Linked DNA regions of Homo sapiens: all the other regions are linked to region 1. The links are contacts of gene promoters, found by promoter capture Hi-C in blood cells and fetal thymus (Javierre and others, 2016). All regions are on one chromosome and are shown on one strand. Each heading gives the region's core, a stretch centred on a gene start or on the middle of the fragment in contact. The rest is flanking DNA. Distances are from core to core; before and after follow the strand shown. Region 1 holds the start of TAFA5 (TAFA chemokine like family member 5). Region 2 holds the start of CERK (ceramide kinase). Region 3 holds the start of TBC1D22A (TBC1 domain family member 22A). Region 4 overlaps TBC1D22A (TBC1 domain family member 22A). Region 5 overlaps TBC1D22A (TBC1 domain family member 22A). Region 6 overlaps TBC1D22A (TBC1 domain family member 22A). Region 7 overlaps TBC1D22A (TBC1 domain family member 22A).

What was found. The method cuts DNA at HindIII sites, captures the fragments that hold promoters and counts their contacts. A CHiCAGO score of 5 or more calls a contact.
Region 2: the fragment with the promoter of CERK here is called in contact with the fragment with the promoter of TAFA5 in region 1 in 1 of 17 cell types (endothelial precursors); the score reaches 15.2 in endothelial precursors.
Region 3: a contact is called between the fragment with the promoter of TBC1D22A here and the fragment with the promoter of TAFA5 in region 1, in 1 of 17 cell types (endothelial precursors). The highest score is 11.9, in endothelial precursors.
Region 4: a fragment that was not itself captured here is called in contact with the fragment with the promoter of TAFA5 in region 1 in 1 of 17 cell types (endothelial precursors); the score reaches 5.7 in endothelial precursors.
Region 5: a fragment that was not itself captured here is called in contact with the fragment with the promoter of TAFA5 in region 1 in 2 of 17 cell types (endothelial precursors and megakaryocytes); the score reaches 15.6 in endothelial precursors.
Region 6: a fragment that was not itself captured here is called in contact with the fragment with the promoter of TAFA5 in region 1 in 1 of 17 cell types (endothelial precursors); the score reaches 5.8 in endothelial precursors.
Region 7: a fragment that was not itself captured here is called in contact with the fragment with the promoter of TAFA5 in region 1 in 1 of 17 cell types (endothelial precursors); the score reaches 14.3 in endothelial precursors.

Annotation. Positions count from the first base shown.
Region 1 is chr22:48,487,746-48,492,035 of GRCh38, forward strand. It overlaps TAFA5 (TAFA chemokine like family member 5), which reads left to right and starts at 1,808. Exons shown (of 4, transcript NM_001082967.3): 1 at 1,808-1,959. The coding sequence starts at 1,848. RefSeq lists an enhancer at 3,886-4,290. The HindIII fragment of the contact is 4,041 bases long and covers 160-4,200 here.
Region 2 is chr22:46,735,946-46,740,235 of GRCh38, forward strand. It overlaps CERK (ceramide kinase), which reads right to left and starts at 2,307. Exons shown (of 13, transcript NM_022766.6): 1 at 2,062-2,307. The coding sequence starts at 2,203. It overlaps LOC105373077 (a long non-coding RNA gene), which reads right to left and starts at 447. Exons shown (of 2, transcript XR_001755593.2): 1 at 358-447. RefSeq lists enhancers at 119-692, 1,380-1,549, 2,788-3,446, 2,820-3,149 and a silencer at 1,700-2,659. The HindIII fragment of the contact is 34,881 bases long and covers 1-4,290 here.
Region 3 is chr22:46,761,350-46,765,639 of GRCh38, forward strand. It overlaps TBC1D22A (TBC1 domain family member 22A), which reads left to right and starts at 1,301. Exons shown (of 13, transcript NM_014346.5): 1 at 1,301-1,499. The coding sequence starts at 1,438. It overlaps TBC1D22A-DT (TBC1D22A divergent transcript), which reads right to left and starts at 1,179. Exons shown (of 1, transcript NR_186691.1): 1 at 562-1,179. RefSeq lists enhancers at 348-1,182, 919-1,048, 1,749-1,828, 2,759-2,828, 2,869-2,948 and 1 more and a silencer at 1,949-2,008. The HindIII fragment of the contact is 21,480 bases long and covers 1-4,290 here.
Region 4 is chr22:46,777,929-46,782,218 of GRCh38, forward strand. All of the region lies in intron 1 of TBC1D22A (TBC1 domain family member 22A), which reads left to right. Among named protein-coding and RNA genes, the nearest start is that of TBC1D22A, 17 kb to the left of the region's middle. The HindIII fragment of the contact is 2,520 bases long and covers 501-3,020 here.
Region 5 is chr22:46,796,178-46,800,467 of GRCh38, forward strand. It overlaps TBC1D22A (TBC1 domain family member 22A), which reads left to right. Exons shown (of 13, transcript NM_014346.5): 4 at 1,267-1,443. Among named protein-coding and RNA genes, the nearest start is that of TBC1D22A, 36 kb to the left of the region's middle. RefSeq lists an enhancer at 2,140-2,640. The HindIII fragment of the contact is 5,305 bases long and covers 1-4,290 here.
Region 6 is chr22:46,824,193-46,828,482 of GRCh38, forward strand. All of the region lies in intron 4 of TBC1D22A (TBC1 domain family member 22A), which reads left to right. Among named protein-coding and RNA genes, the nearest start is that of TBC1D22A, 64 kb to the left of the region's middle. RefSeq lists a silencer at 3,054-3,212. The HindIII fragment of the contact is 9,408 bases long and covers 1-4,290 here.
Region 7 is chr22:46,842,098-46,846,387 of GRCh38, forward strand. All of the region lies in intron 4 of TBC1D22A (TBC1 domain family member 22A), which reads left to right. Among named protein-coding and RNA genes, the nearest start is that of TBC1D22A-AS1, 72 kb to the right of the region's middle. The HindIII fragment of the contact is 289 bases long and covers 1,679-1,967 here.

The sequences.
Region 1 (4,290 bases), core at 558-3,057:
CTCCCTGCCAGGAAAGAGAGCGGGGAGAAGCTGCAGTTGAGAAGATACTAAACAGGAAAGTCAGCGTTTTAATTAAACAGGATTCAAAATTGATGGGAGAAAACAAGCATGGACACAATCATATTAACACAAGAATCCCGTCAGAGCCCCTGGCAAGGAAGCTTCAGTGCACAACAACCACTGGGACGGGGGTTAGAGGACTCGCAGTGAGAGGCTGCCTTTCTTTGCTCAGTTTCTCCTAAAGTGTTGTGTGTGTGTGGATGGGAGAGTGTGTGTGTGTGTGTGTGTGTGTGTGTGTGTGAGAGAGAGAGAGAGAGATTCAAGGAAAATATGTGTGTGTGTGGTGCTGTGTGTGCATTGGGGCATGAATGCTTGCATGCATGAGTTGTGGGTGAGTGTACGGCTGGGGACAGTCCACATCCCTTCACCTCCCTGGACCAGGCCTCAAGATGAAGGGATGATGCTTCTTCTCCCTGGTTGCTCAATCTGACTTGCAGGCCCTCTACTGGCTCCTCAGAAAAGGGTCTCCAGCGCCAAAAGAATCTCCTGGGGTGCTCAAGCCCCCAGCCCTATGCAGGATGGAGAATATCTTGTGAGTTCCAGAGGAGGGGTTCTATTAGTCGTGTGCACGAACCTGCAGGAAGGCAGAGCTTGGGGTGGTGCTGTGGCAGCTACCGGCAGGGGCCAGAGCCTCTCCAGGCAGCAGGGCCATCTGGACATCCTGGACTGGGGAGCGTATCTCCTGGGCTGTAGAGGGAGGTGCAGAGGGGACATGACTAGGAGGGTTGGAGATGGGGAAAGTGTCCTTGTGTCCTTACAAGGCTCATTTTCCCCCCATCCTTTGCTTGTTATAGGAGTGAACCTGTCTTGCAGATGATCGTTGACTATGCAGGTAAAATAGATTGCGATCATTGTCATCCTGCTCAGAAAACCCACCTGGATAGGACCAGTCCTGGGACTGGGAGCCCGGAGACGCCACTGAGAGCCGGTCCTGCAGGGACTCCAGGGAGATGAACCAGGAGATGGCTCAGCAAGGACCAGGCAGTGGCAGAGGTGCCCGAGTAGAGTGATCGTGGGGCAGAGGACTGAGGGAAAGTGCGTGCCTGTGCCTGGCAGTGCCGCCCCAGGTGGAGGAGGAGCCCTCAGGGTGGTGGGCTTCCGATGAAGGGTGACTCTGCTGGGGTCTGAGGCTGTGCTCCCAGTGGACTCAGGGACCCCACTGCACAAGCCCGATTTTGGGTAACAGGGCACACCTAGGGAACAGGCCCAGAGCACCCTCTCCTTGGAATAAACTCCGGATCCAAGTCCCAGAACCCACCTTAGGAGGCGTCTGCCGCCCCCGCCCCCTCCCCAGCCTTCCAGGCCCTGGCTGCGGTGGATGGGGGCGCGGAAGGCCCAAGTGCGCGAACTTCACCTGGCCCGGCCGTCCTCCCCGTGGGGGGCCCAGGCTGCGGGCGCGTCAGGCCGTCTCTGTCGCCATCCGGAGGAGCGGCTTGGGCGCCGCGTCCCCTCTGCCAGGCCCGGGTCGGCGGGCGGCTGGAGCCCCCAGCGGTGGCGGGCGCGCGCCTCTCTCGCGGATGCCGGGGCGCGCGTAGCCGGGGCGCGCAGTGACGCCCAGAGCGGGGCCGGCGTCCCCCTGGCGGGCCGGCGCGGGGTCGGCGGGCGCGGGCGCGAGCGCGGGCGGCGCGGGCGCGGCGCGGGGCGCGGTGGGCCGGGGCCCGGGCGCGGCGGCGGCGGCGGCGGAGGATGGCGCGCGCGGGGCCCGCACGTGGAGGCCGGCGCGGGGGCGCGGGCAGGGCCGGCTGCTGAGACGCGCTGCTGCCCCCCGCGCGGGCGCCGCGGCTTCAATGGCGCCATCGCCCAGGACCGGCAGCCGGCAAGATGCGACCGCCCTGCCCAGCATGTCCTCAACTTTCTGGGCGTTCATGATCCTGGCCAGCCTGCTCATCGCCTACTGCAGTGAGTACCGCGCGGCCCCGGCCCCGGCACGGCCCTCTGGGCCCCGGACCCCCTCCTCCGGCCCCGGCAGGCGCCCCGCGGGCCTCCCGGAGTCGGCGCGGAGTTACGAGCGCCGGGCGCATGGTCCCCCGAGTCCCGGCCGGTCCAACGCTGCGCTGGGCGGGCGAGAGGGTCCACCCGGGTTCCGGGCGCTCGAGCACTTCGGGGTCGGACGCCCCGGCCCGAGCCTCCCTTCCCTGACTCCCCGGCAGGGCCCGGGCTCCAGGCCCCGGGTGGCGCGGCCCGTCCCTGCCCGGCGGTCGGAGCCCAGCCAGCGGCTTCCCGGCCGAGATGCGCGCTCAGGAGGCAGCCGCAGGTCGCGGAGGGCGGGCGGCGCTGCCGGGGTGTCTGCGGAGCGCCCTCCCCGTGCCTCAGCCCGGGACAAGGGGGGAGGCGGCGGCCGAGCCCGGAGAGGAGCTCTTCAGGCAGGAGCCCAGCCTGGGCTCGGAGGAGCAGCTGGAGCTTCCGCTTTCCCGGGAAACGGGCTCGTCAGGCGCCTTCTGGAAAGAGAAGCGAAGTGAGGGATGGGATGCCCGGAGGGGGCTCGCCGCGGCCGCGGACGTTTCTCGGGTCGTGTCTGGGGCCCGAGCTGGTGACCGGCGGGACTGGCGCGGGCGCGGGCTGGGGTGGTGCGGGCCAGTGGGCGCCCGGGCGTGAGCTGAGGGCTGGGGTAGGGGGTGACCGCCGCGGGCTCCCTGTTGCCTGGAGTGAAGGGTGGGGGGTGGCCTGTGCCCCTGCCGAGGCTCCAGGCGGGTGGAATGAGGGGTGGTTGGAGTCCCGGGTGCAGACTCCAGCCTCGGCGCTGGGGAGGGTGCTCAGCATCCCGGGGCACGTTCGCGGCTGGTGGGGTAAGTGGGGGCCGCTCAGCGTCCCGGGCACAGGCTCTGGCCCCAGATGGCGCGGGCTGGTCGGCTTCAGCTCCGGGAGCTCCGGGCTTCTTGTCTTCAGCGGGAGAATAGGACGGGTGCTGGGGAGCACCTGTCATGGAGAATTGCCATGGGCGCGGGAGGTGATGGAAAAATATGGATTCTTTACAAAAAAAAAAAAAAAAGGCCAGCACCGAACCTCCCTCCACAGACACCACCTCCTCCAGAGCCCCGGGCCTCCAAGCTCCCAGTCCGATCTGATCCTTCCGCTGTCGCCAAAATGAGAGCACAGTGGCCCAGGGAGACCCGGGCAGCCGCGGGATCGGCCTCCGGAGTCCTGGGACAGCCCAGCTCGCCAGGATCGCAAGGGAAACCCGGGGACCAGAGCAGGAATTTTCCTACTTGCTTCAGCGCGGTTATGCATTTCCCTAGAAATGCTGTGGCACCGAGCGGGGAGGGGTCGCCAAGCCTGGGGGTCTCAACCCGAGCTGCCCAGGCAGACGAGGCCACCGTGGGTGCGCCGGCGCCCCTGGGAACTCACTGGCTGGCCGCCTGCAGGGAGCAGGGTCTGGGGGTTTGAGCGACATTTGTGCCTGCCCCCGAGTTTTCCGCGGCCGTCACGGGGCCTGCAGGGGTATGTGGGGGGATTCCCTAGAAGATCCCCAAGCAAGGCTTCCTAGGAGATGTAGAAAGGGTTAATGGCAGGTAAACTCTGTGCGGAAGAGGAGGCATTTGAATGCACTTCCTGGTGGCATCACCCCAGAGGAGAGGAGAGAGAGGAGAGGAGAGGGAGAGGGGGCTCATTCAGCAGTGTTTGGGGAGGGGCTGTAGTGCCCTGAGCCCACTACAGGCGGCCCATCCCTGGCTGGCTGCTAGAACCCAGGACAACACCTCACCCCCAACCCCCAGCAGCTCAGCAGGTGTGGAAAAGAACAACTGCTAATTGTTGCGAAGTACTTGACACCAGGGCCCTGTGGCTTCAACACCGCACTTCCCGAGCCCGCGAGGAGCGCGGTACACACTGTCTCAAGACACGCAGCGTCAGCCCTCTCCCACCCTGCGCTGCATCCTGAATCCTAAGGTGTCAGCACGTTGTTCATCCGGACGGGCTCACACCTTCCTGAGACTGTCGCCTGCTCTGCCGAGTGGAGTCCTGGTGTCCCAGCACAGACATCTGAGCCTGCTGCTTAGACACGCTGAGGATGGGAGATCTGGTTTCCACACTCATCCCTCCTCCTTAGGAGGCCTCCCCAGCGTTCTGGAAACAGCCTTTCGCCAGGACAAGGACAATTGGTAAGAAGGTCTTACCAGAGTAGCAGAAATAATTAATAACAGAAGCTTGGGTGAAGCACATTTTTTATGGCTGTTTCCATCTCCATGTAATGGAATAATTGACAATAAGAGACACACCCCATTACACCAGAAA
Region 2 (4,290 bases), core at 1,057-3,556, 1.8 Mb before region 1:
TGATGTTTTCCCATTGCATGGGAGAGCACTCCTGGGTGGAGAGGGCAGGCTGCTTCCTGGAGGAAGCCCACCAGCCAGGGCCACCAGCCAGGGCCCCACCATCCATGGCCCCACAAACCAGGGCCCTCCCTCTCCAAGAGGGACCAAGCTCCTGGCAGGCCAGTCAGGCAGCTCAGGATGAACCCGCACAAAAGCACCTTGGCTTAGCAAGAGTGAAGCAATTAGCATGCCAAGAGGCAAACCCCAGCAGGCTGGACAAAAGCAGACGCCACACCACACCAAGCCCTGACCTGGGGGACCAGAAACCATAATGGGAGCTGGCTGGGGACGCCAAGGCAGAAAGCAGTGATGACTGACCTCCCACACAGATGCCCTGTAAGGGTCTGGCGTCTCTGCGGCGGCTGGAGCCTGAGGGAAGCCTTACAGCCCAGTGGCTACAAGCACAGCAGCTAATTGGGCCAGTCACTTCCAGCCCCTGCAGATCGGCCCCTGCATCCCTAGGACGGGAGCAGCTGCCTCTCAGGAACCCATCCGGTTTGAAGCCCAGTGGCCCGCACTTAGGAAGTGCTTGGGGGAGGCAGTCATCTTCCTGAAGCCTAGGGATTTACAACAAAGTACAAACCCTTCGGGCCCAGGTCAGGCACCTGTTCTCCTTGTGTGTGGGCCCTGGTGGGTGATATTTGGGGTGTGACATTTCTACCAAAGGGGACATGAGAAATACCTTAGGAAAGTCAAGTCTCAGATGCCCAGCCACAGATAGGTGACCCCAGGGCTGGAAACCAAGTGTTGGTCATGGGTCTGAGACCACCCCTCGACCTTGGCCCCACCTAACGTTCAACTCTGTCCCCACCAGAACCCAACCCACAGATCCTCACCACTCAGCACCAGAAAGCGCCCAGAAGAACTCCTGACCTCGACTGCCCACAGGGTCTAAAGGTGTCATCCCAGGCTCCGAATATCCACCAGAGAATCTTGGCCTCCGCCACACCCACCCCATTCCAGCTCCGCACATCCAGCATGAATCCTGGCCTCTGCCACACCCACCCCAATAATTAAAAAGAAAAAAGGCTGGGTGCGGTTGCTCACACCTGTAATCCCAGCACTTTGAGAGGCTGAGGTGGGCAGATCACCTGAGGTCAGGAATTCAAGACCAGCCTGGCCAACATGGTGAAACCCTGTCTCTACTAAAATACAAAAATTAGCCGGGCGTAGTAGCGGGCTCCTGTAATCCCAGCTACTCCGAGGCTGAGGCAGGGAGAATTGCTTGAACCCAGGAGGCGGAGGTGCAGTGAGCCAAGATCGTGGCATTGAACTCCAGCCTGGGCAACAGAGCAACACTCCGACTCAAAAAAAAAAAAAAACAAAAAACAAACAAAAAACAACAAAAAACAAAAACAAACCCTCTGTCCTCCTGCAGGGCTCTCTCCAGGGTGGGCTATGCGTCCTCCATGTTTACCAAAGTCACTCTTCTCCTCATCCGGAGGGCCTCTGCGGGGCAAGTAGCCAACCCGTGGCACGGAAACCAATTCCCCCATCCCGAGCAGGGAGCACACCCCACAGAAAGTCAGGGGCCCCTTCTTTAACTTCTTAACAGGAAGTCCTCACCCTGCAAGGGCGCCTCTCAGGTTTCGGATCCCTGCTAAAGAAAAGCATCTGTTCTTGGAGTAAACTGCAATGCGCGCGGTGGGGAGCGCCTGGCACCCCCCCTCGGGATCCATCCACAGTCCGTCTTGTCCAGAGGTGCCCTGCGGACAGACCGCACCGGGGGCCACGACCCCGCGCCCCGGGTCCCACCTCCCCGCGGGGATGGGGCGCCGGCCTCCCCTCCACTGCGCGGCGCTTTGTCCTCGGGTTCCCGGAGCAGACGGCGGCGCACAGCCCGGCCCCTGGCCCCGGCCTCCCTCCCGCCTGCCCCGACCCCTCCCTGGCGCCTGCGCTCCCAGGGCCCCCGGCCTTACCACAGCCGCTCGCTCCCTGCACCCGGTCCCCCCAGCCGGGTCCCCCAAGCCGCCCCCGCTCCCTGGCCAGGTCCGGCCGAACCCGGGCGGCGGCGACACTCACCCGCGCCGGGGGCGCCGGCTCCGGGCCCCGGGCTCCGCCACCAGCGCAGCAGAGCCCGCGCGGGCTCCAGGCTCACGGCGCAGCGCTGCTGCTTCACCCACAGCACGGATTGCAGCGGCTCCGCCGCCCCCGTCGCCCCCATCTCCGCCGCCGGGCTCGTCCGCCAGGCTGGGGGCGCGCGGACGCCGAGGGGCGCCGGACCGTTAGCGGCCCCTGCAGTGGCCCGGGCGGCGGGCGGCGGGCGGCGGGAGGCGGCGCTGCGTCACCCCGTACGCGGGCGGCGGGGACCGCGGAGGGGACGGGCGGGGCGGGGGCGAGGAGGAGGCGTGGGTAGAGGAGGGGCCGGGAGCCAGGGAGAGACGGGGGGACCCGAGAAGGGGAGAAGAGGGAGGAGGAAGGGGCCGGGATGGGGCTGGCCGAGGCCAGGGCGCTGGGGCCGGGAGGCGGCTGCCTTTCTCTCCTCTCTTCTCCGGCGGGTGCCGGGTGCTGAATCTGGCGCTCCCGCGGCCGGCCGGGACTCAGTGGCGCCTTCCGCGCGGGCCTCGGTTCAGGCGGGGTCCGGGCGGCGTGGAAACGCAGTCCTGGCGATCGGGCGCGGCGGGGGGCGGGCCTGGATGGGGGCGCCACGGGCGACGTGACCTTGGGCGGCGGGTGCCCTCTACGATCCTGGCGTCCTGTCGGCCTGGGAGGGGGCCTGCAGCTGGGCCCCGACAGGCAGGTAAGGCTTTCAGGAGGCGGAGGTCTTTTTAGGGGGCGGGGGCGCTGGCCCTTTGAACTGCTCTGGGGCCTGAAGCCACAGAGCAGACAGCTGAGCAGCCGCCCCCGAGCTGGCCCTAGGAACCGGAGCCTGGGCCCCAGACTTGGAGAGACACGGCCCCTGTGGCCCCAATTCACCGCCTCCCCAGGAAGGCCTCCTTGACCCCACAGCTGAAGGAATCACCAGCCTGCAGGGACTCCAGCCCTGCCTTCAGAGCACGCCGTGCGCCTTCATGCAAGCTCCAGTCTCTGCGTCCGCAGTGCTTAACACAGCCCCATAGGAAGCAGCCACAACCTGGTTCGGAGGGCACATCCCTCCCTGATTTATCAGTGAAGACTGTGCTCACAGAGGTTAAGTCACTTGCCCAAGAGCACAGGGCTCCAGTGTGGCAGAGCCTAGGCTCACACTGACACTGCCTGGATGTGACACTGAGGTCTGAGGCCTGCCCCTCCCCTCGGCTCCCCTACCCAGCCCTGCTGCTGCAGGCAGAGGTGAGGTGGGCTAGGTCCACGTGGCCTTGCTGCTGTGCCTGGCACCAGGTGGCAGCATATACAGGTCTTACCCTGCCAGCTCCTTGTGACTGTCTTGTCTATAGGGCGGGAACCAGCCATGAATCATTCCTCCCTGGGAGCCCAGCCCCTGTTCAGGCCATGCAGTGAAGGCCCCAGGACAGTCCTGCAGCCACCGTGGGCCCAGTCAGAGTCCTAGCAGGCAGTACCTGATCGTGGCACACAGTGGGGTGTGCAGCAGCGAGGCCTGCCCAGCCTCCTCCCTCCCTCAGCTGCCGCTCTGAGGCCTGGGAAATGTGGATCTGAAACTTACTTGGAAAGAAAAGCTCATGCCAGTGGCAGGAGGGTGCCGCTGCATGCGAAGAGGGTTGGCAGGCAAGGGTGGCATGGGCAGGGGCCCGAGAGCACCAGCGTCCCTACTGGGGACCCCTTCCCTGGGCCTCCCTGTGCTTAGGCTCCCCGTGCCCCTCCCGGCGTATTCACGTTGCTGTCCCCCGGCTGCACGCCTTGGCTTAAAATCCTGCAGCCAGAGGTGGGGGCCCAGAGACGACTCAGAAGTGCTTAGGCCCCGAAGGAGCTCCGTTGGGGGAGACAGCAACATCAGTTACAAAACACACAGGAGATTCAATGAGGCTGTTAGGGTGGGCCCTCATCCAGCGCGTCCTTACAAGAAGAGGAAATGTTGACCGGGCTCTGTGGCTCACACCTGTAATCCCAGCACTTTGGGAGGCTGAAGCGGGTGGATCACCTGAAGTCAGGCATTGGAGACCATCCTGGTCAACATGGTGAAACCCTGTCTCTACTAAAAATACAAAAATTAGCTGGGTGCAGTGGTGCGCTCCTGAATCCCAGCTACTCCGGAAGCTGAGGCAGGAGAATTGCTTGAACCCAGGTGAGCTGAGATTGCGCCATTGCACTCCAGCCTGGGTGACGAGAGCGAAACTCCATCTCAAAAAAAAAAGA
Region 3 (4,290 bases), core at 51-2,550, 1.7 Mb before region 1:
AGTCAATGTTACTTACCAGTAAATGAAGAGGCATGGGAAATTGTTATTATTTTTGAGACGGAGTTTCGCTCTGTCGCCCAGCCTGGAGTGCAGTGGCACGATCTGGGCTCACTGCAAGCTCTGCCTCACGGGTTCACGCTATTCTCCTGCCTCAGCCTCCAGGGAAATTCTTAATCAGAAAATATGTCTTAGATTTTTGTTTTAAAAGAGAACTGGCAGGAGCTCCAAATACACTAAAGCTCCAGTCTGAAATGACAGTCCCTGAGCATTCAATCTTTGGTCTAAGAAGCACAGAAATGTAATGCAAACCAGACACGGTTTTTTTAGTGATTTTCTGCACACACACACACACACACACACACACACAGTAAAAAGATCTAGTCATAACGTGTGCACCTGCAGTTCCAACTACTGGGGAGGGTGAGGCAGGAGGATCACTAGAGGGCAGGAGTTCGAGACTAGCCTGGGCAACATAGCAAGACACCCACCCCCAGTCCCCCCCGGAAAAAAAGAATAAAAAAGGTAAAAATAATTTTAAAAAGAGTAAAAGGAATGTAAAAATAATTTTAATGCATTTTATTTAATCCAATACATTAAAAATGTTACCTAACATGCAAACAATATACAAATTATTTTATACGACGTCTTTGGAATCCTGTATTTTACACGTAAAGCGCATCTCACTCCGGACTAGCCAGGTTTCAAGCACGTGATAGCCGCACAAGGCTGGAACCCAGGCCTGGGGAATTAATTCTTGTCCTCGGTGCTCAAACCATTCTTCCCTTCAAGCCTGGCCTAATCCCCAGTCTCTCTCATCTCTTCGAATACGCTCCGCGGTTATGCCCCTCACCTCACTGCACTGCAAATATTTCGTCCACTGAGTATTTGCTGATCGTCACTCAGTGCCGGGTGACCCAGCTTGACCAGCACCCGCAGCCGCCCTGCCACTGTTGGGCCGGGTATGGTGTGTCTGGCTTCCCTCTGTTCTGGGCCGGCTCCGAAACGCGCTCAAGAGAAATCGGAATCAGACACGGGGCAGTTCAGCTTTGGAAATGAGGAGCTCGAGGCTCCTGGGAGTCCGTTGCGGGCAGGTGGGCGCCGCTGTTGTGTCGGGAGAGCCAGGAGCGACAGACTCAAACTCAGAAACCCAACCACCTCCGCTCCCTCCGCGATGCGTGTAACGTGCGTTGCGCGGCGTCGCCCTTTAATAACGACGGGCGCTCGGAGTGCTGCGTCACTCGCCACCAGGGACTTAGGCGGGACTTCCGGGCGCGCGTAGGCACAACTTCCGGAAGGAGGCGGAAGAGCTTCTCGGCTCTAGGCTCTGGAGTCCCGGGAGCAGTGAGGGGCCACCCGGGGCACAGGAAAGGGCCGCTAGGGGAGGGCCGGGTGCACTCGGGGTGTCTGGGCCGCGGGTCTGAGGGATGAGGAGGGGCCATGGCCAGCGACGGGGCCAGGAAGCAATTCTGGAAGCGCAGCAACAGCAAGCTCCCGGGCAGGTGGGTGTGCCGCGGAGGGCCAGGTCGGGGTCAGGGGTCAGAGGTCAGGTGGCCGCGTTGGCCTCCTGGGCTGCGGGTGGAGTCGGGGGTCTGGAGAGGGCAACTTGGACTCTGAGGAGACTGCTGGATGGTGTGACGGGCGTTGGGGGGCTCGGAGGTCGGAGCGTGGGGTCTGGGGGTGACAGTGGCTGCACGTAGGATCGAGGCTTGCAAGGACGAGGAGGAGCTATTGGCGTTTTTCCTGACACTGGCAGGCTTCTTTCCGAGAAACTCCTGGGCTCCTTGGGGAGGCTGGAAGGAACTGATTCGGGTCATGCTGTGAAGTTTGGTGGAGTCCGGAAGCTGGCCGGGCTGAGGCCCCCCGTCTGCTGGGTGGATCAGTTTCTGCAGGGGGTGTGGTGTTTTTGACCCACTTGATTTGCCTGTGGTCTCTTGAGGGCTGCGGCTCTTGCCTTGAGCATAGAAGAGGACTAGAGTTTCCCTGTGAGTTTCCATGTTTCTGCTTGCTGGTGTCAAAACCACCTCCTATGTTGTGTTAGCAGGAAGTTTTTTTTTTTTTTTTTTTTTTTTTTTTTTTTTTCTTCGGCTGGAATGACCTGGGTACACCCTAGATGCTATACAGCTCCAGAGCTCCAGAGTCCTTGTCTGATTGCTGTGGCGCTGAGCTATGCCAGGGCCCTAGGGAATGAGACATTACGTGGAGGGTACCTAGGATAAAATCAGCCACTGGTGAAAACAGATCAGAGATAAGCAAACGTCAAGATTTCAGAACATAGTTCTGTTCCAAAGCTGAAGTCTGGAATGCTGAAAATTATGAATTGTGTTACGAAGATAAGTCTGAGTAGAATCATTCATAAACACAGTAAAATGGTTTGTACTCCTGTTTCATAATAAATATTATTGTTTGAGTGTTTGAATGATAAACTTTGGAATTTACTGCATCCAGTTAGAAAAGTTTACTTTTGGCCAGGTGTGGCGGCTCACGCCTGTAATCCCAGCACTTTGGGAGGTCGAGGTGGACAGATCACCTGAGGTCAGGAGTTTGAGACCAGCCTCACCAACATGGAGAAACCTAGTCTCTACTAAAAATACAAAATTAGCTGGGCATGGTGGCACATGCCTGTAATCCTGGCTACTTGGGAGGCTGAGGCAGGAGAATCACTTGAACCTGGGAGGTGGAGGTTGCAGTGAGCCGAGATCGTTCCATTGCACTCCATCCTGGGCAATAAGAGCGAAACTCTGTCTCAAAAAAAAAAAGGAAAGTTTACTTTTAAGAGTGATCTGGGGGTTAGCAGCGTGAGTTACTGACAGCTCAGACAGTGGCTTTGAGAATGAAGGGAGTCATCAAAGGTGGCCGGAGACCCTATTCGACTCCACAGGACCGTGCTTGATTCGAGAACAGTAAGACCTTTCAACAAAACCAGTGTCAGGGTCCAAGGTGAGTGAAGATTCTGGAATGGTGGTGGGTAGGAGGTCCTGGTAGTGACAGGAACAAATGCTGTAGAACATAAGAGTCCAGGGAAGAGGAGCCACATGACAGTGTAACTTTTATGTGTTACTTTTAGGTCTTAAGGTTTTGGTTCCTCATCAGTCTAAACTCTAATTCTTAATCAGCTTAGATGTAAGAATAACAGAGCTGCTGTGTGGAGTTACAGCAGTGACTCAACCTTTGGATTGAAGGCTGTGGCTCTTGGTAATTTGTCCTTATACTGAGTTGAATTTATGTCCATCTGGAAACTATGGATGTGACATTTGGAAATAGGGTTTTTGCACAAGTAATCAAGGTAAAATGAGGTCATACTGGATGAGGGTGGGCCTTAGTTCGTCAACTAGTATTTTTATAAAAAGAGGGAAATTTGAATACAGAGAGACACACACAGGGAAATGGCCCTATGGAGACAGAAACAGAGATTGGAATAGTACATTTACAAGCCAAGGAAAGCCAGGGGTTGCTGGCAGCCACCAGAAGCTAGAAGAGGCAAGGAAGGATGCTCACCTAGAGACTTGACAGAGAGCATGGCCCTGCAGATGACCACTTGATTTTGGGTTTTTGGCGTTTAAAACTGAGAGAGAATAAGTGTCTGTTGTGTTAAGCCATTCAGTTGGTGGTAATTTGTTATGGCAGCCACAGGAGACTAATACAGTCTCCAGCTTTCTTCTGTGTGAACCTGAAATACCGAACACCAGCTTTCCTTTTCCTCTGACTTTGATGCTATTCTGTGTCTTAGGCACTTTTGAGAGCAGCTTCTGTATTACCTTTGTGAAGTTGGAGTCTTGGAGAGTTCGAGGCTGTCACTGAAGAGGGCAGAAGAAGAAGGAGAGGTTGGGTGCACCAGGAAGGCCTGTGAAGCCTCTGTGTCTCCCATCCGTCTTGTGGCTCAAGCCTCTGGCAGTGCTGCTCTTTCAGGTGGCAGGCTGGAACTCTTCCCTGAAGGAGGAGTCACAGAGGGGTGCCCGTTTTCCTATCAGTAGTGGTGATTGGTCACTAGCTGCGTATTTATTTAGTCCACACCTATGCAAGCACAGTGCTAGTGGAGATCCTAGCCAGGTTCCTGTGGCTTTGGCAGCTCTTTCAATTGTTTCCCATGATTGTTTTCTTTCTTTTTTTGTTTTTGTTTTTGTTTTTGTTTTTTTTGAGATGGAGTCTCACTGTGTTGCCCAGGCTGGAGTGCAGTGGTGTGATCTTGGCTCACTGCAACCTCTGCCTCCCAGGTTCAAGTGATTCTCCTGTCTCAGCCTCCCAAGTAGCTGGGATTACAGGCGCCCACCAGCACGCCTGTCTGTTTTTTTG
Region 4 (4,290 bases), core at 511-3,010, 1.7 Mb before region 1:
GGCTGTACGGCACCGTCTGTTGCTCTGAGGCTATGTGCCTGTACAGCATGGTACTGTTCTGAATACTGCAGGCAGTTGTCACACAATGGTTGGTATTTTTGTATCTAAACATCTCTAAATATGGAGCAGGTATAGTACAAATACAGAATGAAAGATAAAATGGCATACTCGTGTAGGGCAGCTGGTGCGATTGGCGCTCACGGGACTGGACGGTGCCCTTGGTGGGTCGGTGAATGAAGGGTGAGTGAATGGGAAGGTCTGGGTCCTCACTGTGCATCGTGTAGATGTCATTAGCACTCTACATTTAGGCTCTACTAGATTCATAAACACACCTTCTTTCTTCAGTAGTAAATTAACCTTAGCTTGCTGTGACTTTTAAACTTCATAAACGTTTTGATTTTTAAAAAACTTTTTGACTCCTTTCTATTGACACATAGCTTAGAACACAAATACGTTGTACAGCTGCACCAAGATATTTTTCTTTATATCCTGACTCGGTAAGCTTTTTTCTCTTTTTAAAATTTTTTATTTTTTACTTTTTCAGCTTTTTGTTAAAAACTAAGACACAGACACACACATTAGCCTAGGCCGACACAGGGTCGGGACCGTCAGTGCCACTGGCTTCCACCTCCACATCTTGCCCCAGTGGAAGGTCTTCGGGGGCAATAACATGCATGGAATCATCATCTTCCATGATAACATTGCCTTCTTCTGGAATGCCTCCTGAAGGACTAGGGACTTGCCTGAGGCTGTTTTACAGCTTTTATTGTATTTTGTTTTTTAAACAAGCAGAAGGAACATAACTCTAAAATAATGATAAAAAGTATAGTACAATAGGCCAGGCACAGTGTAATCCTGTAATCCCAGCACTCTGGGAGGCCAAGGCAGGTAGATCACCTGAGGTCAGGAGTTCGAAAGCAGCCTGGCCAACATGGTGAAACCCCGTCTCTACTAAAAGTACAAAAATTAGCCGGGCGTGGTGGTGGGCACCTGTAATCCCAGATACCCAGGAGTCTGAGGCAGGAGAATCGCTTGTACCCTGGAGGCAGAGGCTGCAGTGAGTCGAGATCACACCATTGCACTCCAGCCTGAATGACAAGAGCAAAACTCTGTCTCAAATAAAAAAACAAGTATAATACAATTAGTACAATGAATACATCCATAAAGCAGTAGCATAGTTGTTCATTATGATCAAGTATTACGTACAGTACATAATGTATGTGCTATACTGTTATAGGACTGGCAGTGCAGTAGATTTGCTTACATCAGCATCACCGCAAACACAGGAGTATGCTTTGTGATGTGATGTAACTTTGGCTGTGACATCACTAGGTGACAGGAATTTTTCAACTGCATTATAGTCTTACAGGACCATGGTCCTATATGTGGTCTGTTGTTGACTAAAATGTCGTTATGTGGTGCGTGGCTTGACTTCTCTGTGTTGGACAATTTCTTTCTTTCTTTTTTTTAAAGGTGCCCACCACCACACCTGGCTAATGTTTGTATTTTTAGTAGAGACGGGGTTTCACCATGTTGGCCAGGCTGGTCTCGAACTCCTGACCTCAGGTGATCTGCCCGCCTCGGCCTCCCAAAGAGCTGGAATTACAGACGTGAGCCACAGCGCCTGGCCAGGACAATTTCAAAATACTTCCATTTCCTTCATATTTTCTGTTTTCTATAATAAACACACATTGCTTTTGTTATGTGCGGGAAAAAATCATTGTAAAAATGCTGTTTCCAAGACCTATTTCCAGAGATGTCCGTTTGACCCAGTAATTGCCTCAGCCCCTACTGGGTTCTCAGTGCTCCGAGGGCTGTGAGGAGTGTGACATGAGACAAAATGCAGCCCCTGTAGCAGGGAGTTTGTGGTCCAGAAGCAGCACCACATAGCTGGGAGCCTTGCAGGACAGCGTATGTGTTGCTGCCAGTCAGAGTGGTGTGGGTGTCGGGGCGGGACAGCCCTCGGAGACCCTCTGGTTTGGGTCTCAGGTACCACATGTTTCTGCTGTTGACCCTCGGGGTGGGCACAAGTTTCAGATTATGCTGTGGACGGAGGGGATGGTGGAATTGTTCACTGTTGCCATGATGGTTTTTCGTACATTTTTCCTCCAAAGCTCCTAGAGTTAATTTCCTTGGAAAATTTACTTCTGAATATATTTTATAAATCTGGGGAGTATCACCATGTGTTAGAATGAGCTGAGTGGTAAATTCAGTTGCCAATTTGAGTACGTATTTCAGAAAGCTGCTATTGACCCCTAAGGGGGCACTGAATAATGACTGTGCTTGGAGAAGAGAGGTTGATTAGCCATCAAATGAATTTGACTAGATGACTTGCCTGTTTACTTCATATATGTGAAATACAGAGAAGCATTTAATCGTAAATGTTTCATTTATTTTATGATCCTGAGAACATTGCAGCTGGATTTATTGCTTTTCCATACTTTTATTTTCTTTCACTCTTCCCTGTTTCCCTCACTGCTATTTTCACCTACTGCTGTTTAACCTTCAATTAAAAAAAAAAAAGCTGTTCTGATACACCATCAGGTTTGTTTGAAAAGAGCACCTTGGTGTAGAGGCTTCAAATTCAAACCAGAAAAACATTCTGCAGGATCTGCCAGGGAGAGCTGCCTCCTGTCAAAACCCAGCGGCCTTGCAGCGTTGGCCAGAGTCGCTCTGTCCCTCTTGACTCTGACTTGTCTCTTCCTGCTTCAGAGTCACTTGTATCCTCATGGATTAGCTGCCTTCACTGAGGCGGCCCAAGGACAGGGAGAGGGACTCTCGCTTGTTCACTGTCAGCTTTCCAGGACCAGCCCGGGCCTGGTGTGGAGCAGGTGCCCAGTCAGTGTTTGTTGAGTGACTTGAATGGAGAAACATAACGCAGCGTAGTCAGTAGAAGCTGAAGACATCTGTGTTGCACGCTGCTGTCAGGCAAGGACCAAGTTGGAGGCCTTAGCTATCCAGAAGTAGATTCTCAGCAAGTATTGGATTTTAGTATTTTGTTTATTGTTTTTTTAAATTTAAGCTTTTCTGAATCATGTTGTAAAGACAGCTCTGGGCACAGTCCTGAAGAGTTGGTGTTGATGTCAGGGACCCATTCTCTTTCTCTTGGGCATTTCCCCCTGCCCCGACCCCCACAACTGACCAGTGTCTCCAGCCTGTTCTTATGCCGTGACCCCTCTGCTCTTCTCCCTGGAGGTGCCCTCCCAATTTTGTTTTTTTTTTTTTTTTTAGACAGGGTGTCATTCTGTTGCTGGAGTGCAGTTGCTGGTGCTGGTGTTGCTGGTGTCACTGCTGGAGTGCAGTGGTGCGTGATCTTAGCTCACTGCAGCCTTGACTTCCTGGGCTCAGGTGATCTTCCCACCTCAGCCTCCTGAGTAGCTGGGACTACAGGAGCACACCACCATGCCTGGTTAATTTTTATATTTTTTATAGAGACGGGGTTTCACCATGTTGCCCGTGCTGGTCTTGAACTCCTGGACTCAAACGATCTGCCTACCTTGGCCTCCCGAAGTGCTGGGATTATAGGCCTGAGCCACCACGCCCAACCCCAGTTCTCGTGTTAGACCTTAGTTTACCTGCCTCGCCTGCCATGGGTGTCCTCGGGTTCCCCTTACGAGTGGTGGCATTGCAGTTGCATCTCCCTGTGCCTATGCTGAAAAGGGGAGCTTTGGCCACAATTCTGAGGGCTGTTTTTGGGGAGGGCATGGGGAGGTCTTTTTGGTTGGGGGTCTTCTCCAGGGCACAGCCTCTTGGGGCATCTCTCTGCCGGCCCCTCCCTGGCCTGCCCCGGAGTATCTTGTCCCTTGTGCACATTGTTCCACTTTCACCTGTGTGCGGCCTCTCCTGTCGTGGGTTAGAGTCTGTGACCCTTCATCAGTGTTTGCTCATGCCCTCTTCCATCTGAGAGCCCCGGCTGTGTGTTTGTAGGATCAGCAGGATGTGTACCCATTGACCAGAACACCCAACTAATGGCCCCTGCCTTGCTCACTACTAACCAGTTAGTCCTCCTCAAGTTTGGGGGCGATGAAATCTGTCATTTTCATGTGAAGCATGCTGAAGTGTGTTGTTCTGTGGTGATTTACGCTACAAACTTGTCATTCATGGTGGGACAAGTGGACTTGGACTTCTTCTTCTTATTATTATTGAGATGGAGTCTCACTCTGTCGCCTAGGCTGGTGTGCAGTGGCACGATCTCGGCTCACTGCAACCTCCGCCTCCTGGGTTCAAGTGATTCTTCTGCCTCAGCCTCCTGGGTAGCTGGGACTACAGGCGTGCACCATCACACCCAGC
Region 5 (4,290 bases), core at 951-3,450, 1.7 Mb before region 1:
ATGGGGGAGGAGACAGGGCGGTACTCTGAAGTCTATGTCCCCACTTTAGCAGACTTTTCTGGAAATTTAACTGGGCCACATTCTGCCCAGAGGCCATAGGTTGCCTGGCTCCTGGATAGCCTGAGGGTTTCTGTGTGAATTATTTTCCCCCACTCCCAGGTTATAAGGGAAATGGGGGTGCTCTGTGGGAAGGAGGGCGCGGGGGAGTGCGGCTCCTACCTCCTTGCTCAGCGGCTGCTGGAGTGGATGTCGGCCCGTCAGCTGCAGCGTTTGCTTCGGCTCCATTTCCTGGAGTTTATTTTTCACTCTACTTTAATTTTCAGTTTTTGAAAAATGAGATAGCTAGACAGGATTTAGACCCAGGAGTTTGGAGCCTTTCCCAGCCTCTTGCTTGTTGGTCTCGGATGGCAGTGTTGAGTGATCTGAGGGCCTTAGGGTCTTCCCTTGGGCTGACCCGGTCCCGGGTTGCTGGGTGGAACGTGCTGTCTCACCACCTGCTTGGATCCCCCTGGGCCTGTCCGTCTTGGGGGTCAGTGGGGCCATGGTGGGCAGCAGCAGAGGGCGGGAGGGAGGGCGGGCAGCTTGTACTCTAGTGCCACTGCGGTCACTGCCTGTGGTGGGGTCTGGGAAGGTGCCATCCCTCACCTGTCTGGCTTCCTTTGTTTCCTTGGGATGAGGGTCCCTGTGGGACCTTCCTCCCAGGGCACTGGTGAGACCCAGGAGGGCCAGGCAGGTGGCGGGGTTGGGCACGCTCTTGAGATGGCAGGTGAGAGCCCTCGCAGCGCCCTGGTTCCTGCTGTGTCCCCACTGTTGCCTTCTGTCCTCAGCACCTCTGCAGGCTTTCTCCTTTCCCTCATGGTAACTCACGGGCTTGCCCTCCGCACTCAGGCCTGGCTGACCCGAGGGCACCGTCCTACACAGACCCTCTGGGTCATGTCACCTGGGCAGGCCCTGATCTGCCACCCCAGGCACTGGTGGGAGCCTGACCTCCACACAGCCCGAGGGGCCCTGGAGTTTTCTGGCTGTCATTGTGTTGCTTTTATGCAAGGTGGTCCATTTTGTTGGTGAATAATACTCTGCCAGTGAAGCGAGTGAATTTCAAAGGTGTCAGTTCCATGTTATTGCTCAAGAAACCAAGGTCCCCACTGCTGAGTGATGGGAAGAAGGGACCCATCAGCATTCACAAAGGGACAGTGGCACAGCAAGGAGGAACGTGTAGTCGGGAGGAGCGCCCTCACCCTCACCCCCATTCTCTCACCCCTGCAGAAAGTGCCAGCGATGCCGCCCCTCTGCAGAGGTCCCAGTCTCTCCCACACTCGGCCACCGTCACGCTGGGTGGCACATCTGACCCCAGCACTCTCAGCAGCTCAGCGCTGAGCGAAAGAGAGGCCTCCCGGCTCGACAAGTTCAAGCAGCTGCTTGCCGGCCCCAACACGGACCTTGGTAAGCACCCTGCCCTCTGGAGGACACACACAGACATTTCTTGCTGTTTCTGAAATAGATCACATCTTAAAGGATTCTATGTATGCTTATGTAATGCACACGCGTCCGTGTGTAATTTGCCTTGCAGGAAGGTGATGTTTTCATGTAATATTTTCAAGTCAGTCACTAAGGTAGTAGCAATTTGTGCTTTAGACAAGTTTTGTTAATGTTTTTCCCATGCAATTTGAAAATGTATTTTGCGTTCCTTTTTGTTTTCTTTTTTTAAAATTTGAGACAAGGTCTTACTCTGTTGCCTGGCTGGAGTGCAGTGGTGTGATCATAGCTCACTGCAACCTGGAATTCCTGGGCTCAAGCAATCCTCCTGCCTCAGCTTCCTGAGTATGTGGGACTACAGGATTGTGCCACCATGCTCACCAGATTTTTTAAACAATTTTTTCTACAGATACGGGTCTGCCTGTGTTGCCCAGGCTGGTCTTGAACTCCTAGGCTTAAGAGATCCTCCTGCCTCAGCCTCACAAAGCACTGGGCTTAAGGCGTGATCCACCACGCCTGGCCCATTCTGTTTTCCTGTTGTCCCATTTGCACTCTTTATTATTGCTGCCCTTGGTGAGCCCTTCGAGGCTGGCCAGGTGGACATCCTTGTTCTTGACAGTATTCTGAAGACAGTGGCTCATGGGGGCACAGCGCTGGTGACCATCAACTCAATCTGCTGGTTTTGTACTTTCCTACCATGGGGCTTGCAGTCATCAGAGGGTGACAGGCTGTGAGCCCTGCAAGGGGGCAGGGGTGAGGCTGGGGCAGAGGGGCAGGCCCACAGGGCAGAGCACAGTCACCAGTGTGACTCTTCCTGCGCGAGTTGCTTCCAGGCACACGCAGTGCCCATGTGGACTGCCGTGGCCAGGCTCTGTGGAACGCACTTGCTTTCAGTTCCTCTGGTGGAATTCCTGCTGAATCCACGTCCTTCCTTTCCCTATCTCATCTTTGTGGAGTGCCACTCTGGCTAGGTGTTTGCTAGACGCTGGAGCTCTCGGGAGGACCGGAATGTGGCCTTGGTCATGAGATTGCTTCATTGAGGGGACAAACCTGTATCACACAGTTATGACTGGTGTCACTGTGGCACTCTAAGAGCCAGAGGTGCAACGCCTGGCTTGGCCAGGAGGTGGCGAGTGGCGCACGCGGATGGGCCGCCAGGAGCCACGCAGGAGCCATGCAGGGGCCATATAGGAGCTTGCAGCAGCCGGGCCTTCACGCTCAAGCCCAGGGCAGGGAGAGGGTTTCCGGGCAGAAGCAGCGGTTCAAAGGGCATGGCTGAAGCTGTGTTCTCGAGGCGGGGGAGGGCTCTTGGAAGGTCTCCTGGCTAGAAGGACACAGCTCTGAGTAGAGTTCTCAGAGTGGGTGGTTGTTTCTTCCTTATGTTTGTTTTTTTTTGAAACAGCAACACTTGCATGTGTTATAACATGACACAGCACAGCAGGGTGTATGTGAAAATGAGGCCTGTCCCAGCCCCCACCTTCCCTTCCTTTCCACAGCTCGAGGTGTCTCCTTCCAGCGATGGCCCATGCATCTGTTGTTTTAAACGTTTCGTGTTGATGCAATTCAAACTTGCAGAACAGTTGGCATGAATAGTGCCAACAACTCCCATATGCTCTGTACCCAGAATCACCAATTGTTTACGTTTGCCCATTACCATTCTGCATGTGTGTGCCTGTTTTTGTGTGTATATATACATTTTTTTCCTGAACCATTTGAGAGTCAGTTGGAGATATATCCCTTTACCTCTGAAACCTTCGCTGCATATTTCCTAAGCACAAAGACATTCCCTCAGTATCATCACAGCACAGGGGTCACAATCAGGAAATTTAACGTTGACACAGTACTATTTTAACACTTGTATTATTTTCATCCACAGTCCATAGTCACATTCTGCCAGTTGTCCCAGTAATGTCCTTTCCCTCTTTTTTCTTAGTCCAGACTCCAGTGGGGACCATGCGTTCCATTTGGATGTCACGCCTCTGTCTTCTCCACTAACCTGGCGCAGCAGCTTTGCCGGTCTCTGCATTTCCATCTTGACACTTTAGCAGAGCACGGGCCAGTGATTTTGTGGGATGTCCCTTGGTTTGTGCTTGTCTGATGTTTGCCCACAATGAGATTCTGATTGATAATTTTTGGCAGGAACATCACTGAAGGGATTCGTGTTCTCCTTGGTCATCACAGCGGGGGCACGTGGTGCTGGTGGGTCCTCACGTTGAAGATGTGGACTCCGATCACTTGGTTGAGGTGGCGTCTGCCAGCTCTTTCCACTGAAGAGCTCCCCTTTTTCCTTTGGTGATGAAGTGCTCTGTAGAGAGATGCTCTGGGGTCTGTGCATTTCTACAGTGTATTTCTTTGTCCCCTTGCACGGCAAGGCAGTTGTGCACCTCACTTTTTAAGGGAATGATACATTTTCCCATGGCGTACGTGGAGAACCGCCTTAGTCTTTAGAGTGCCCTGTAACATGCCATCCTATGGATTTCCCCCGACTTGACTGCACCAGCCCCTGCGGTTGGGCAGCGGGTTATTCCTAACTTGCTATTATTACAAACAACTTGAGAACGTTTCTTCAGGCGCCTGAACCTCCTTCTGTGATGGTGACACAGAGCATCCCTAGCCATGGGTGAGGCGAGAAGGCAGTGTGGGGGATGGGTCTGTGAGTTCGCCTAGAGCACCAGGTGTGGAGGTGTCACCCACCAAGACAGGAGATAAAGGTAGATCGTGCTTACGGGAGTCTAGTCTTGTAGTTGACGTACCCATCTTGGCCACTTCCTCTTCTAGCATGCCAGTGCCCCTTCTCTGCTGGCTCTCCTGCCT
Region 6 (4,290 bases), core at 770-3,269, 1.7 Mb before region 1:
CAGCTGGACCACTTTTTGGGTGTCCTGTAGCTTCCGTGGCTCGAGGCTCCTGTGTTGGACGGTGCAGGGGTGAAGAAGGGGCTGCTTATGAAGGTGATTTGGATGGTCATTCTGATGGGGTGACAGTGAAGCGTAGACCCAAAGGATGAGAGGAGATAGCCACCTGATGATTTGGGGGCACATAACCCTCTAAGGAGGGGTGTGTGGGGATGAGCTTGGTGTGCATGTGGTCCTTCTCCAAGAAGGCCGCTGTGGCTGCAGTGAAGTGAAGGTGGAGCTTGGAGGCGAGCGAGGAGGGAGGGGAATCAGAGCTGCATCCTGCAGGCCCCTGAGGGCGGTGGAAGGAGGTCACATTCCATGCTAGTTGTGGTGGAAAGCCAGTGGAAGGTTTGAGCTGGGGCTGGCGCGATTCGACTTAGGCTTTCAGAAAGATCCCTGTGGCTTTTCTGTGGAGGTAGGAAGACCAGTTAGGAGGGTGGTGGCTGGAGTCGGTGGAGGTGGAGGAGGTGATGAGAAGTCTGGGGTTTGAGGGGGTGTATTTTAAAGCTGTGGGGAGGAGGCTTGTTGAGGGACTGGGTGTGAAGGATGAGGGAAGGAGGGCCATCAGGAGTGGCTGTTGAGGATGGGGCAACTTGGAGAGGAGCAGATTTGGGGAGAAAAGAGACGGAATTTGGCTTGGGACATGTAAAGCCTGAGGTGCCCTGAGCCATCAGTCAGGGTGTCAAGTGGGCAGCTGGACACAGGTGTGTCTGTAGTGATCTGTAGCCGAGGCAGATGCCAGGATGGGGACGTGGGGTGTGGATGCTGGAGTTACATTGAGACCTGGCCTGCCCAGCATTCTTTTTCATGTGCTGATCTGCTTGGGTCAATACATTTTTAATTCTGCAAAGAAGGGTGGTGCCTGTGTTTTCCCTTAACGCAAGGCATTTGCGTGTGCAGCAGGCGTCAGTGGAGTTTTGGAGTGTCAGGGATAATGTAATAGTTATGTAATAACTTAAAATCGATGACTAAACATCCACGTTCCCCCCAGAGAAATTCCTTTTGCCACCAGGAATTTCTTAGAGGTGCCTTTTTCTTCCTGGGGGTCTGAACCCCGCCGTGCCCATGCCTGTGCTGTGTTTCCTCTCTGCAGGGGCCCAGCTCCCCTCACCAGCACAGGGGACCCGCAATGGCTCTGCCTTTGGAATCTGCCCGTCTCCCTTTACCAGGAGATGCAGAGAACTTTGTTCTCTCCCTTCATATGAATTATATAATACCCACTTGCCAAAAAAGATTACAGTGAATTGTTTTTTTTCTTTTGAGACAGAGTCTCACTCTATCACCCGGGCTGGAGTGCAGTGGCACGATCTCAGCTCACTGCAAACGCTGCCTCCCAGGTTCAAGCGATTCTTGTGCCTCAGCCTCCCAAGTAGCTGGGATTACAAGCATACACCACCATGCCTGGCTAATTTTTGTCTTTTTAGTAGAGACGGGGTTTTGCCATGTTGGCCAGGCTGGTCTCGAATTTCTGGCCTTAAGTGATCCACCCGCTTTGGCCTCCCCAAAGTGCTGGGATTACAGGTATGAACCACCACACCCAGCCTAAACTGAATTGTTTTAAATAAAAATTGCCCTCACATATTGCATATGTAATATGAAAAAACGTTTTTCAAACAGAAGTTCACCTGGGTGATGAGACACTGTGGTGGTCTTCTTTTTTTTTTTTTTTGAAACGGAGTCTTGCTCTGTCGCCCAGGCTGGAGTACAGTGGCGCCATCTCGGCTTACTGCAAGCTCCATCTCCCGGGTTCACGCCATTCTCCTGCCTCAGCCTCCCGAGTAGCTGGGACTGCAGGTGCCCACCACCACGCCTGGCTAATTTTTTGTATTTTTAGTGAGATGGGGTTTCACCGTGTTAGCCATGATGGTCTCGATCTCCTGACCTCGTGATCCGCCCACCTTGGCCTCCCAAAGTGCTGGGATTATAGGCGTGAGCCACCACACCCAGCTGGTGGTCTTCTTTTAACGCTAAACTGTGGCCCTTTGTGTGACTGGATGTTCTTCTGCAAGCCGACATTCGGTACCAATGTGGGGTTCCATTGTTTGGCTGGGCCACACTTTCCTGGCCGCCCCTGTTCTCCATTTGTTTCTTCCAAGTTTTTCCCATTAAACACTGCCTCAGATATCTTAGTACTCACATCTTAGCTCTCATCTCTGGTTATTTTCTTGGGATAATTACTCAATGTAAAATTATTGTTTCCAAAGATATGCCTATTTTTAAGACTTGATCAAGTTTTCTTTTTTCACATCTTATGGGCCATCTGTGTTTCTGCTGTCAATTTCCTGAGCGGATTTTTCGCTGATGGTTTTGTCTTGTCCTAGTGTGTTTGGGAGAGGGCTTTTCGTGTCCTGGTGTCCTGGAAGGTGGATGGGATGCAGGTGGAGCTTGGGCACCCAGGGCTCCTGTGAGGCTCAGCAGGGCCAGCCTGGGTGGAAGCGAGGTCCCGGAGACTGTCCCGGAGCTTGCTTGAGTGCTATGGTCCTACAAAGTGAAGTGTTGTACCCATTTTAGAGATGAGGACATGAGTTTCAGAGGGGTGACTGGACAATCCCATAGCACCCACGCAGCAGAGTCAGGATTTGAACCTGGGCAGACGCTTGCCCCATCCAGAGTGAAACTTGTGGACGCTGTGCAGGACGGTTCCTGGCTTGCAGTCAGCACTCAGATAGCTGTTGAATGAATACACGAAAACGTAAATCTGGTTTTAGTTTCCGTTTTTTTTTTTTTGAAAGACAGATTAGCTCACTGTAAAATCTGTTTTTCTTCCTTTGCCAGGAAGCCATCAACAGAGACTCTTTCCTCTATCCTGTTGTAGAGTTGATTGACAGGGTTCTTTGTGCCTGGAAAGCAAATTATGTTAAAATTATCTTCACGACCTATTTATAAGTGCCACGATTCCTCAGCACTCTTTGGTTATAATCTGTGTCCTCAGGTGAGTGGGGTCTCCCGGGTCCCATGGCGCCCCCTGCCTGTTCAGGTCAGGCTTCTAACTTACCTTGGAGAGTGCTCTGCCCGCCGTCACCACGCGATGGTGTTGTGACCTCACGTGGGGCAAGTCATGCAGGCCGAGTCGGCGTTCCTGAGCTCCCATGCAGCGAATGCATCACCTCGGGAGAAAACTGTGTTCAATGTCCTCTTAATGACGTTGGCATTTTCACCATCGGTGCAGCTTGTGTTTCTAAAACATGACTACCTCACCCACATTGCCTATCCCTAAGGCATTTCAGCCACCCAGAGCCCCTTCGGAATCTGCTTTCCTTTCTCACGGACTTACCTTTTGAACATGCGTGTACCAAATGGTATTTTATAAGTCGTAGTCTTCTCGTATCAAAACGAGTCCTGGCCGCCAGCAGAACGTCTGATCAGCCTAGGTGATCGGCCTGCCCAGAGAGAGCTGCTGTCATTTCCACTTGAGGATGCGTGTGGGCTTGGTCACTTTGTGCAGCCTGGTGGTGTGAGTGAGGTCTCAGCCTTAGGTGGGCTTCTGAAGGGTGACCTATGACTCCTCTCTTCTCTGAGAGTACCTGGGTGGAGCGTACTGGGGTCCCAGGATGATGGATGATGGGCCACTTTCTACTGGGGCGGGCAGTGAAGACTTCATCTGGAGGTGCTTGTCTTATCCGCAGGGACTGTCTGTCTCAACCACGTGAGCAGCGTTAAGGCCGCTCTGCAGCTCTTTGTGCGGATATATGGCATGGGTGCTCCCCTTTGTGCTCCCCACCCTAACACAATCTCAAGTGTTGTTAGGCCTGTGCGTCGTGCAGTGTAATTTCCCCACAAGGTGTCACTGCAGATTATTCCCAGGACTTTCACGCCCCAGGGACTTCCGTGTGCCATTGACTAAGATTAGAAGCATCTTGAGGCCAGGGGGCTGCTCCACACTCCCGTGCCTTCCAACACAGCAGAGGTTCTGGTGCAGCGTCAGGACTCCAGTGGGATTTTTCTTTTGTATTTGAGAGAATGGATGGAGGTGGGATACATTTGCTCAGCATGATTTCTCACCCACGGATTAATAAATATATGTAAGTGTGATAAAGTTAAAAAATGGAGGCCTCATAATTCTGCAGGAAGAAAGACAAAGGAATTAAAGATTGAAAAGGCAAGAAGCCTTTGAAGCAGCCTGTTGTCCTCTTAGTTGTTCACATTCTGGTTCTAACAACATGTCCACTTGAAGAACTACCTGGGCCACTGCGAGATGTTTGTCACTGTGAGATGTTTGTCTGTTGCATTTCTCTACCCACTCCCACGGCC
Region 7 (4,290 bases), core at 573-3,072, 1.6 Mb before region 1:
GTTACAGGTATAGGTATTTTTGCTGCAACTTAAAAACTTTTCCTTAATTTAAAACAGGCACCATCAATTTTGCATTCTTTGGTAAAGGCATGAAGAACCCAGAGCTGAAATAACAAGCTGCTTTCTTTGGGGCCATTTGAATGATAGGGACAACTAAGATGTGGGATCTCATTCGGCCAAAAGCCATATAGGCTGAGCAGTCATGGGTTTGGGTCTCTATGGGATCTAAGACTTGGAATTTATTTTTAACATTTTATTTGAAACTTTTCAAACATGGAGAAAAGCTGAAAGACTTGTCATGGCCATCCATTGAGGCCACCATATAGAGTATGTTAGGTCTCCTCCATCTCTCTTTCTGTCTCTGTCTGTCCATCCATCATTCCGTCTCTTCTTTTTGGATGCATCTCAAAGTAAGTTGTAGATATCAGTTCTCCCCGTAAACACTTGAGTATGCATGTCATTAACTTGATTTAGGGTTTTCGTGGAGGTAATATTTACACCATGAAATGTACAAACCTGCAGCACAAAAATCAGTGGGATGAGTTTTAACAAATGCATGACCTGTGCAGCGCGATCTCCGATCAAACTGTAGAACATCAGCCTTACTGCAGAACGTTCTCCAGGGCCCTTTGGCAGTGCACACACTGTGTAGCCACGCCCAGCGGGCAGCTTCGGGAGATGAGTTGGGGAGGGAGGGCTTTGGCGCCCTGACAGGTAGGGATGTTCCAGAGCTGCTGTTGCGTGCCCAGGGCATGCCTTGACAGCATCACAGTTGAATGGAGCAGTGTCTGGGTGACATCGATGAGAAGGGAGCTGAAGGAGGTGCTGCGGCCCATGTTCATGAGGAGATGGAAGGAGTGCAGAATGGCAGGGCTGGGATCCTGATGTACCCTGGGACTTGGCTGTCTCTGAGTGTCTGCAGTGCCTCGAGCACACTGTGCGTACCTGAGGCAGTTGGTGGGAAATGGATTTAGTTCCATGCGTTCAGCTGGGTGGCCGGATTTCAGGGCATCATTTGTGAAATGACCCACTGTAATGTGGTGGTTCAAGGGGAGGCACTGAGCCAGTTCTGCTGCTCGCCTTTAGCTCAGGGTCCTCATCTGTCAAGTGGGAATCACTTGCTTCTGTTGTTACGAGCATTCGGTGTACTAATACAGTAATACAAACCACCACCTGCACAGAGCAGCGCTCAGTCAAGTCAGCTGTTGTTGTTGTCATTGATTTTTATGATAATAACTCCCCTGCAGAGATAAAACAGCCACGGGTATACAGTGGCTGCCCGGCCGGTGCTGCAGCAGCTCTTCCTCCTGGGATGCCAGGGGATTGAGACTCGGCTTTATTCTGAAGCTGTCCCAAATATGAATCATTCACTGTTATTAAGCCACCTCAGCATGCCCCCTTTGTTATCTGGGCCCAAAAGAGCACAGAGTGTGGCCCCCAGTACATTTTGGGTGACGCCTTTACACCCATCCAGCAAGTTGGGGCTGGGAGTGGGTATCACGCGTTCTGTAGATGACGTCTGTAGACTTCTGGGGTTTTTCAATAGAGGGGCCATATTGTTTATCATCTGTTTTGGGGGTAAACGGGGCACTCTTAACAGTTTAAGAGGGGCAGGTGAGCGGTGAACTGGGTAAACTGAGATGTATGATATCCTAGTTCCCTGGGGTGAAGGAGGCCAAGCTTTTCTGTTAATGAAAATAAACTGCATCTCATTCACAGCGGATTGACCTGTGAGCGTAAACACAGCCTGGGGAGTAGCACCCGGCAGCACCCTGTGTTCTCACATCATCGGGAAGGACAGCTGCCTTCCATTCATCATGCTGGCAGATGCCGTTGGCTGTGCTGGGGCCAGAAAGCATTTGGGATGGGGTCAGGACATCTCAAGGCAGATAGATGTTTGTGGGGTTGTTCGGTCTTGAGGGTCACACGGTCTCTGTCTTCTTGGCTGTCATTTGCAAAGGAGTACAAGCTTGGGCTGGACTGGCCAGCCAGCCTTCCTGTGGGTGTAAACATGTGGGTAAGGCATGCTAGATGCTGGGCGTGGGCACTCTGGTCCAAGCACATTCTTATCAAGCCGTTCTAAGCATTCCAAGTAGGAGTCTCATTGAGAAGCATCCCCGTCTGTGGTCTTGCCATGCCACGGTGCCCATGTCCAGCAGTCACTGAGTACACCGTTAACTGCTGTGTAGACCGTGAACTATTCCACTGCGTGCTGCTTCCTTCTCTTCTTACTCTCCTCTTTGGAGAAGTTTATAAGCTTAGTTGCATTTAGTTATAAAGCATCTGGGCAGCCCTGTCTCCCTCTGATTGTACCCCCTGTGGGCATTCATTAAGCACCTCCTCTGTGCCAGGCAGTGTAGCCACCAGCATAAAGCTAGTGACTGAGTGTGTGCCAGATGTCTGTGTGGTTGAGTCGTCAGCTTGACGTGGTGGGACAGAAGTGAGTTTGCAGGAGACTGGGTATAAGGATGGGGAGAGCTTATGGGTGGGTAGAGGAGCACAGCACAGCCAGAGTGAACCAGGCAGAGGTGGGGCCGAGTGATTCCTGGGAAGGGTTGGGCTGAGCTGGATGCTTCCATCTGGGTCCCCCGTGGGGTCTGGAGCAGTCACTTACCCAGTTGTAATGAAGCCCTCCTGCTCACTTGCAGGCATCATAGCAGTTGACGGTCTGAGCACAGTGAGGCTGGCCTGGACGTCTGAGCGGGGTCATCCCAGGCCCAGGGGTCCTACTGGGCTCTTAAGTGGAGAGTGGTAGGAGACTGTTGGGTTGGAGATGCTGCGCCCTCCTTCATGCCAGCAAGTATTGCCTGGGTGGTCTCAAAAGTCCTGTGCCATAGTCAGATTTGGTTTCTAGGACTTCTCCAACTCTGGAATTCTCTGGAGAAGGGAGTCCTGTCTGTGCCTGGAGTCCAGTGGGCCCTGGTGTTTCTTGGTCATACCCTGGCGTCCAGTGACTGTAGTCTTTGATTCCTGCATTATCTGCAGGCGGTTGCCTGTGCCAGGAGAAGGCCATTTTGGTGAGACGAGGAATGTCTTTGTTGATCCGTGGAGGAAAGAACGTAACAGTGGGATATTGAGATTGTTAATCAATTGTTTTAGGATAAATACCCAACTTTCTCTCCTCTTAGCTGATTAGATTCCATCTTTCTCTGTGCTTGAGACGTAAGGACGTCTGTGCTTGGGCACAAGGTTGTATCTGACGTTATTTTCAGTCTTCTACATGGATCCTGAATAAGTCTTTTGTTCCATGGAGAAGATTAAGGGCAGTATTTGGTTGGAAAATTTTTAATGAAGCACCTAACAGAGCTATTATTATTCATTTCTGAAACAACTTGCTGCGGTTACCGTAGTAATATTAAGCCTTTTATTAAATATTTTTCCTTTCGGTTTTGAGGTAAGTTTTCATTAAATGCTGATGGGGGAGCTGGAGATCCACGAACCTGGTGTCTGGAAAGAATTTTCTAGCTCTGCTGAGTTAAATCATTCAAGGAATTTATGTTATGGGAACATAAAGCTTATAAATCTAGTTTATCATATCTATCATTTAATTGTTCATGCAAGCCAGCTCTTCATGTAGCGATTTACAGTAATCTCAGTGAAATAACAGTGTTGTGTCCCAAAATGAATAATGCATGCCAAGAAATTGTTGAGCTCCTTAAAATCATTATGCTCAAAATATTAGGCTCTTTTATTTGAAAGTGATAGAATGATGATCATGTACTAGTTGCAAGCTGGGGACTTCAGAGTCTGTCGTTCCTGCTTTGCGTTGGGTCGCCAGCCCTCAGGAAGGAACCGCGGCGAGCCGATTCCAGGAGGAGGATACGCCTTGCTGCAGTCGGCCCGCAGGAGCAGCCGGGGAGCTGGCAACAGCCAGGGCTCTGTGGGAGGGCTGGGATGTTGGCTTAGGGGTAAAAAAATTCTGTGTTTAAAAGATGAGATGCTTTTTAGACATCCATCTGTCTGGGACAAGAAATGGGTATCTTGCCATTAGTATTGTTGCCAGGCAGAAACCATGGAGTTTATCACAATGCATCTGGAAGGCAGCAATGTGCCGAGTGCTTTTTCTCCCCTCTCCTGTTACTCATCTATCTCAACAGCACACATATACCATGATGTGGTTTTAAATAATGAGGCAAACAGGCAATAGCTGTTGTGATCTTTCAATGAGAATGGTTTAGTGAGTTGGATTTGTTGCTAGCAGCACTGATCCATTTGTATGTATGTTTGTCAGTGGGCGTGGCGACATCGCTTACTCACCTATGCTTTCCGTCTTTGAAGAGCTACCCTGCA